Linked DNA regions of Homo sapiens: regions 1 and 3 are each linked to region 2. The links are contacts of gene promoters, found by promoter capture Hi-C in human tissues and cell types (Jung and others, 2019). All regions are on one chromosome and are shown on one strand. Each heading gives the region's core, a stretch centred on a gene start or on the middle of the fragment in contact. The rest is flanking DNA. Distances are from core to core; before and after follow the strand shown. Region 1 overlaps IQGAP2 (IQ motif containing GTPase activating protein 2). Region 2 holds the start of S100Z (S100 calcium binding protein Z). Region 3 overlaps AGGF1 (angiogenic factor with G-patch and FHA domains 1).

Region 1 (2,864 bases), core at 358-2,857, 160 kb before region 2:
TTTCTTCATAGAATGGTCTAGGCACCCTTGTCAAAAACTAATTGACAATACATGTATGGCTTTATTTCTGGATTTTCAATTCTACTCCATTCACTTATATGTCTATCCTTGTACTAGTGCCACACCATATTGATCACTGTAGCTTTGTAATGAGTTTTGAAATACGGAAGTCCTCCAACTTCTTTCTTCTTTTTCAAGATTGTTTTAGTCTTGCAGTTGAATAGGTCTCTTGCAGTTATATGTGAATTTTAGGATCAACTTTTCCATTTATGTAAAAAAGGCTTGAGGCCAGTGTTTTAATAGAGGCCCTAAGTCTTTTATGCTCAAAGGCCTTCCTCTTGGCATACTGTGAGATCTTACTGTTGGCCGACCACTTTACTAAGCAGCCCAGTGATCAATGTAGGTAACAATTTGAAATCAACACTGACTGGTTAGCCATCCCTGAAAGTGAAATTTGGATATTGCCCAAAAGGTTCAATAGAATTAGTTCTATGATTTTAGCCAAGCCCTGCTTCTAAATATACTTCCTTTAAAGTACATATTTGAAAAAATCTTGATACTAACAGATAATTACAAAGTGCAGCATTGACAGGGAACCTGAAAACTGAGTCTTTTTCTTGCAGGCAAGGAAACTAAAGTCTAAAAGTACCAGTATCAGTCCATGGCCTGTTAGGAACCAGGCGACACAGCAGGAGGGGAGCAAGTGAAGCTTCATCCTGTATTTACAGCTGCTCCCCATTGCTGGCATTAACACCTGAGCTCCACCTCCTGTCAGATCAGTGGCAGCAGTAGATTCTCATAGGAGTATGAACCCTATTGTGAGCTCCACATGCAAGGGATCTAGGTTGCACACTCCTTATGAGAATCTAATGCCTGATGATCACTGTCTCCCATCACCCACAGATGGGACTGTCTAGTTGTAGGAAAACAAGCTCAGGGCATCCACTCATTCTGTATTATGGTGAGTTGTATAATTATTTCATTATATATTACAATGCAATAATAATAGAAACAAAGTGCACAATAAATGTAACGCACTTGAATCATCTTCCCGAAACCATCCCCCACCCTGTCCATGGAAAAATTGTCTTCCACAAAACCTGTCCCTGGTGCCAAAAGGGTTGGGGACCACTCCTTTAAAATATTGATTTGAACTCTCATGAGGATGACTTTTTTGATTTGAACACTCTCATCAGGATGACTTTTTTCCAAGCTAATAAACCGAATTTGTAACTCAAGCATAAGATATAGTTCTTGAGATTCATTAGAGAACCAAATTTAACTAAAATCGGACAATGACTTTTATAAGTTATGAAGTGGACAGACATGAAATGCAGAGCAATTGGGATGTGAAAATACCTAGCTTTTCTCTATCAAAAAACTATTCTGCTTTTTTGTGAAACAGATTGTGTTCTTAACTTTCAGAAATGCCCTTATGTTTAATTACAATGTCACTAGTTTTCCAGTCATGAGTAACTCATCTTCATGGAGGCCCCCACAGTAGCAGAATTTGAGGCATTGTTAATCATTATGTTTGTAAATTTAATTCCATGCTAGTCTCATAATTCTTACTCATCAGATGAAGATGAAGATGATGATAATAGCAAACACCTATGTAGTGCTTACCATGGCCAGGGACAGTTTTTATATACTGTGCAAATGCAAAGTGTTCCAGAATTCCAAACCTTTTGAGAGCTGACAGTGGTCAAAGGAAATGCTCTTTGGAGCGTTTTGAATTTTCGGATTTAGGATGCTGAAGCAGTAAGTATATAATGCAAATGTTCCAAAATCTGAAAAGATAAAAAATCTGAAACACTTTTGGGCCCAAGCATTTTGAAAAAGGGACCCACAATCTGTAAAGAGAGAAAGAGAATAACATGTGCATATATATATATTAAAATAAACATGTATAAAATATGTATGTAATATTCTCAGCAACCCCAAGAGAGTGGAGGTTATTATCAGTATTTTACAGATGAGGAAACTAGGCACAGAACAGGTATAAACCTTTTCCTGGGTAACACAGTTACTAAGTGGAGCAGAGATTCAAACCCACATGATTTGAAATCCTCCAGGGCCCACACTCTTGATCATAAAGTTTTACAACTTGTCGAGGGCAAGGTCATTGTTCTTTGCATTCTTAGGAATCTTAGAATAAATAATGAGAATTATTAGCTGAGCAGTTACTGAGTAACGGAGGCTGGAGCATCTTTCCAGGCCAAAGAGGAGGGACAAAGGGCACATATCGGAGTAGGAAGAAACATTTATTTCTTTTTCCCTTGTGTATGTTTATAGAATAGAGAACCTCAGTTTGGGCTATTGCTATTTTTCTAATACTACCAAGCACAGGGATATTTAAAAAAAAAAAAAAAAAAAAAAAAAACCTGGTCGAGGAATCCTAAAAACCTAGTCGAGGGGTCTTAGGGATGACATAGGGTTATAGCCTCAATCTATCACTTATTAACCATGGAACTCAGCAAGTTGCCTCGCCATCAGTTTTCTCCTCCATAATATAGAGGAGAGGGGAAAGGAAGGGCTATGATGATCACATGAAATTATAATTAATACCACATAAATTATATAAAACTATGCAGTTGTCAACCTTTCATTATAACTTATGATTCAACTTAAAATATGTGATCCTTATGGCCTTAATTAAGCTTAGTTTCCCACAAAAGTATGTGTGTTTAAGTAGAAGGCAATATTTGTGGTTTTTAATCATACTTAGCTGCTTGAGTGCTTAAATTGTCATCTCTTAAGAATTTCCTGTCACATGATTAAGTTTAGGTTCCATGATCCCAGCTGAAAGATTTCCTTGTTTTTTGGTCCAAACTAGCAGGAGCACTAAATGGCTAAGGTGATAT
Region 2 (2,863 bases), core at 245-2,744:
GAGCCCAGGAGTTCAAGACTAGACTGGGCAAGCAACATGGTGAAACCCCATCTCTACAAAAAAATACAAGTATTAGCCAGGTTGTGGTGGCATACCCTGCAGTCCTAGCTATTTGGGAGGCTGAAGTGGGAGGATCACTTGAGCCTGGGAGGTTGAGGTTGCAGAGAGCTGTGATTGTGTCTCTGTACTCTACCCTAGGCAATGGAGCAAGACTCTGTCTCCAAAAAAAAAAAAAAAAAATTTATCTTTGAATTCTTTCTTTCAATATATTGTTATCTGTATTTCTGTACTGAGTGCTGTGCTTCTTGACCTGTCTCTGCCCTTTTCTGTGTATTTATTTATTTAATTGACAAGTAAAAATTGTATATATTATGGTATACAAATACAGCTTGATGTTTTAATTTATGTATACATTGTGGAATTATTAAGTCAAGCTATTTGACTTAATTGCCCCATATACTTGTCATTTTTTGGGGGTGATAAAGACACTTAACATCTACTGTCTTAGCAATTTTCGATACACGATATATTGTTATTAACTATAGATAGCATGCTGTACAATGGGAGCTCTTAAACTTATTCCTCCTGGGCCAGGCGCAGTGTCTCACGCCTATAATCCCAGCACATTGGGAGGCCAAGGTGGGCGGATCACTTGAGGTCAGGAATTCAAGACCAGCCTCACCAACATGGTGAAACCCCATCTCTACTGAAAATACAAAAATTAGCCAGGCTTAGTGGTGGGCGCTTGTAATCTCAGCTACTTGGGAGGCTGAGGCAGAAGCTTGAACCAGGGAGGTGGAGGTTGCAGTGAGCTGAGATGATGCCACTGCACTCCAGCCTGGGTGACAGAGCAAGACTCTGTCTCAAAAAAAAAAAAGAAAAAAAGAAATGCTGTGAGGAATTATTAGCCATGAAGCTTCAGCAGGCAGGTTAGGTAGCTTTTCCAGTCACATACTGGTGAAGTAAGGATTTGAACCCCAAGACTCTGGTGCCAGAGTAATTGCTCTTCACCATGAGGAGGCACCAGTGGGGGAGTGTTGGATCACAAGCAGTTTCTTTTTCTTTTTTTTTTGTTTTTTTGAGACGGAATCTGGCTCTGTCACCTAGTCTGGAGGGCAGCGGCGAGCTCAGCTCACTACAACCTCTGCCTCTCAGGTTCAAGCGTTCTCCTGCTTCAGCCTCACGAGTAGCTGGAATTACAGGCGCCCGCCACCATGCCTGGCTAATTTTTATATTTTTAGTAGAGATGGGGTTTCGCCACGTTGACCAGGCTGGTCTCAAACTCCTGACCGCAAGTGATCCACCCACCTCAGCCTCTCAAAGTGCTGGGATTAGAGGCATGAGCCACTGCACCCAGCGCAATTTCGTTAGAGACTTGGTGCCTTCCCATTTCTTTTACTCAGCAATATACCAGCTTTAGGTCCTAAATTAAACCTCTTCCTGCTTTCCCACCTGATGAAGAAACGTGCCTGCAGTGTGGTGAGTCTGGACCACGCAGACTCAGAACAGCACTACTCACAGCAGGGCCTCTTGCTCGCTCTAGCTGCTGGGAGGAAAACGGCTTGCTAATCTCCACGCCCAGAAATTCAGACAAGAGCATTCTCCTTATCTCATCTGCACAGGAAGCAGGTCTAAGGTAAAAGATTATTTTTGTGGAAGATTCTTGCTTTTCAGTCTAGTGGTTGAAGTGTGAGCCTGGCAGGCGTTGGATTAGAGAGGGCAACAAGAGTGGAGGTTGTGAGGTGGGGGGTTGCCTTGGGGCTTCCACTCTAAAATGTGGCCTTACCTTGGCCACAAAGGGGTCGGGGGGGTGGGGGAGAGAGAGAGAGAGAGAGAGAGGGAGAGAGCAGCCTGATCATAGCTCGGAGCGTAGAGGTTCTGGTAAGTTCCTTGCCCTAAAGAACACTTAGTTCATTCTGGCTCCTTTCCTGGTGACCATCCTGGCTTCCTGCTTGGCCTTCACCTCACCTTGAGAAATTCAAGTTTCATGTTCTTGTCCAGGCCAAAGACCCAGAAGAACCTTCAAGGTGAGGCTTGGCCCCTTAGATCCACGCCGTGATTTCGCTTCTTTTTCCTGAAGCCTGCACAGATGCCAGTGTAAGCCCACTCCCAGGAAGTCACAGCAGTGGTCTATGCTCCTCCTCTTCACACTGGCCAGTGCTGGGCATGCCTGGACAATCAGCCCTGGAATGGCTGCTCTCAGCCTACAGAAGAAGAGAGGGAAGAGGGATGGAGGGGCTGGGGAGAAGTTGGTGAGAGGACACAAAATTTGGGTTAGACAGAGAAATAAAGTTTTTTTTGTTTTTTGTTTTTTTCTGAGATGGAGTTTCACTCTGTCACCCAGGCTGGAGTGCAGTGGTGTGATCTCAGCTCACTGCAACCTCCACCTCCCACTTGGCTTCCCAAAGTGCTGCGATTACAGGCATGAGCCACCGCTCCCCAGCCTCCTCATGGGATTTTTGAGGATGACATAAAGGAATACATTTAAACTGCCTAGAAGGGTGCTTGGCCCAGAGTATGTGCTAATTAACGTTGGCTACTATTATTTTCCTTCAACCCAGTGCCGGTGCAGGTCTAGAGGAAAGCATGAGGTGATACAGGGGCACCCAGAGGCGGAGTGCTCCCAGGAGCTGAGGGGCATCGGAGGCTTCCCTGGAGGACTGGCACCTGAGCAGAGGAATGGGCAGCACAGTGGCAGTGCCACGTGTGCGGCACAGATGGTGCAGAGGGGATGGGTGGGCACACTGCGGGGAGTTTAGATTTAGCCAGGGGATGGCAGGGCCTGTCCAGGAGGTTAAGTGAGGAGCTCAGGTGTGCCTCCCAGCAGGCAGGGGAGGCTAATTTTGAAGAAGAGCAAAGTAGG
Region 3 (2,738 bases), core at 134-2,633, 200 kb after region 2:
TGGTGCGCATGCCTGTAGTCCCAGCTACTCGGGAGGCTGAGGCAGTAGAATCTCTTGAACCTGGGAGGTGGAGGTTGGAGCGAGCCGAGATCGCGCCACTGCACTCCAGCCTGGGCGACAGAGCGAGACTCCGTCTCAAAAAAAAAAAAAAAGAAAGAAAGGTGTGTGAGATGCTCTCATATTTTATAAAATAACAGAAGAGCATATGAATTCGCCTCATGTTGCTCTGAGGTAGAAAGAAAAGTGAGAGTGCGTTAGAAACCAAGGGAAAAAAATGGAAAATAATTATTTACTTTTTCTAAGGCTGAAATGATAGATTTGACCATTGTATAACACGGTGACTATTGTTAATAACAATGTGTTGTATTATTGCAAACTGCTGAGAGCAAATTTTAAGTTTCTTACCACAGAAAAATAAGTATTTGAGGTAATGTACATGTTAATTAGCTCAATTTAACCACTGTACATTGTGTACGTATTTCAAAACTTCATGTTGTACATGATAAAAATACATCATTTTTGTTAATTAAAAAATGTTCATTTATTATAAGGCATATCAACTATAAATGTACAATAAATAATAAAAGACTTATGCCAGGCAAGTTAAAATTTTGGAATAAGATAGTCACAGTTAATTTGTACTTTAAACTTTTATGTATTATCAAGCTGAATCTGAAGTACTAAATTTTAGCAAAACTACAATTTTGCTACATATTGAGTACATTTGGATCTTTAAATTCATGTCATAAGTAAAGCTAATTCTGTATTTTATTTGTGTTGACTAGCTAATTGATTACCAGTTTAAAAAGAAAATTTAGAATAGGTATTCTTTAGGCCTGCACTATCCAGTAAGGTAGCCAGCAGCTCCATGTGGCTGTTGAGCACTTGAAGTTTTGCTAATCCAAACTCAAATGTGCTGTTAAGTGTAAAATACACTCTGGATGTTGCAGACTATGTAAACTATCTCATTAATAATTTTACTTTTTAAATGTGGCTACTAGAAAATGTAAAAGTACAAATATGGTTTGTGTTACATTTTTATTGGACACCATTGGTCTAGGCTATCCCATAGTCCAGGCAGTATGTGATGAGGGCCTGAACTAGGAATGTTAAGACATTGAGAATAGAGAGACAGATTTGGATATATTTTGAGAAAAGTCTGTAGCACTTCGTAATTTTATATATGGTTAAGGGGATCTCAGAGATAACTATAGGATTTTTAATTTGGATAATAAGAAGATGGTAATATCATTAACCAAGAAAGGAAATGTGAGAAGGAGAGGGGGAACAGATTGTAACCATTGTTATTTTACTGACACATATCTTCACGAATTCGTTGAAACTTGATGTAATGTTATAAGATAGTGATGTTTAAGAGTATTCTCCCCTGTTCCCTCGTATCTACCCACCCTTCTCCAGGATTTGAACTCAGAGGATCAAAAAGCCTTCAGTGTTGAACATACAAGCTGCAATGAGGAAGAAAATTTCGCAAATATGAAAAAGAAGGCCAAAATAGGCATTCATCACAAAAATAGTCCCCCCAAAGTCACTGTTCCAACTAGTGGAAATACTATAGAGTCTCCTCTTCATGAAAACATCTCTAATTCAACATCATTTAAAGATGAGAAAATCATGGAGACTGATAGTGAACCAGAGGAAGGTGAAATTACAGACTCTCAGACTGAGGATAGTTATGACGAAGCCATTACCAGTGAAGGCAATGTAACTGCAGAAGATAGTGAGGATGAAGGTGAGTAAATAATCATTATTTAAGTAAATAGCCCAGTCTGGTAACTATAAAAGAGCAAAACCATTAAAAATGTTAGTGAGTTGTAGTATATCTGCCAGAAAGTAAACATTATTTTAATGATGTTATTGAAAATGTTGTGGGTTGCCACTTGGTTATTCTTAGAGAGTAGGATGTGAATAAATGACTAATACTTAGACCTTCAGAAGGTTTCATTGTATTGAATGGCATAGTCAGTAGAATACAAAGCCAGGTTACCTGGATTCTAATCTTAAAATATAGATTAAGGCTGTTTTAGTGGGTTAGATATTTGTAGTCTACTTTTGTAACTGAGAGAGAAAAACAAGTTGTCTTTAAAAAGTATACATTATGAATTCAGCTACATGGATATTATGGTAAATCTAATTTTTTTTTACTTGAATATATAAAGACATACTTTTAAAACACAGGATTTCATATTACAGTTGGCCTTCTGTATCCATGGGTTCTACTTTAGTGGATTCAAGCAACCTCAGATCAAAAATATTCAGGGAAAAAAATGGATAGCTACATCTGTACTGAACATGTACACACTTTTTTTCTTGTTATTGTCCCCTAAATATGGTGTACCTATTTATATAGCATTTACATTGTATTAGGTGTAAGTAATCTAGAGATGATTTAAGTTATACAGAAGGATGCACATAAGTTATATGCAAATACGATACAATTTATATAAGGACTTGAACATCCATAGATTTTGGCATATGAGGAGGGATCTTGGAACTAATCCCCCACAGATACCGAGGGCCAACTGTGTAGTATATGAGCTTACTTTGTTCTTTGGTTCTCAATGGCATTTCTCTTGCATTTTTTTTGAGACAGAGCCTTGCTCTATTGCCCAGGCTGGAGTGCAGTGGCGCAGTCTCGGCTTACTGTAACCTCCGCCTCCTGGGTTCAAGTGATTCTCTTGCCTCAGCCTCCCAAGTTGCTGGGACTACAGGCGCATGTC

What was found. Contacts are between HindIII fragments. The study calls those that stand out against the background at their distance.
Region 1: a fragment that was not itself captured here is called in contact with the fragment with the promoter of S100Z in region 2 in 3 of the 25 tissues and cell types used here (H1 embryonic stem cells, IMR-90 fibroblasts and small bowel).
Region 3: a contact is called between a fragment that was not itself captured here and the fragment with the promoter of S100Z in region 2, in 1 of the 25 tissues and cell types used here (spleen).

What each region holds. Positions count from the first base shown.
Region 1 is chr5:76,686,874-76,689,737 of GRCh38, forward strand. All of the region lies in intron 30 of IQGAP2 (IQ motif containing GTPase activating protein 2), which reads left to right. Among named protein-coding and RNA genes, the nearest start is that of NCRUPAR, 24 kb to the right of the region's middle. The HindIII fragment of the contact is 4,029 bases long and covers 1-2,864 here.
Region 2 is chr5:76,848,520-76,851,382 of GRCh38, forward strand. It overlaps S100Z (S100 calcium binding protein Z), which reads left to right and starts at 1,495. Exons shown (of 5, transcript NM_130772.4): 1 at 1,495-1,636. The HindIII fragment of the contact is 8,325 bases long and covers 1-2,863 here.
Region 3 is chr5:77,044,928-77,047,665 of GRCh38, forward strand. AGGF1 (angiogenic factor with G-patch and FHA domains 1) reads left to right here. Exons shown (of 14, transcript NM_018046.5): 6 at 1,420-1,750. Among named protein-coding and RNA genes, the nearest start is that of AGGF1, 16 kb to the left of the region's middle. The HindIII fragment of the contact is 7,047 bases long and covers 1-2,738 here.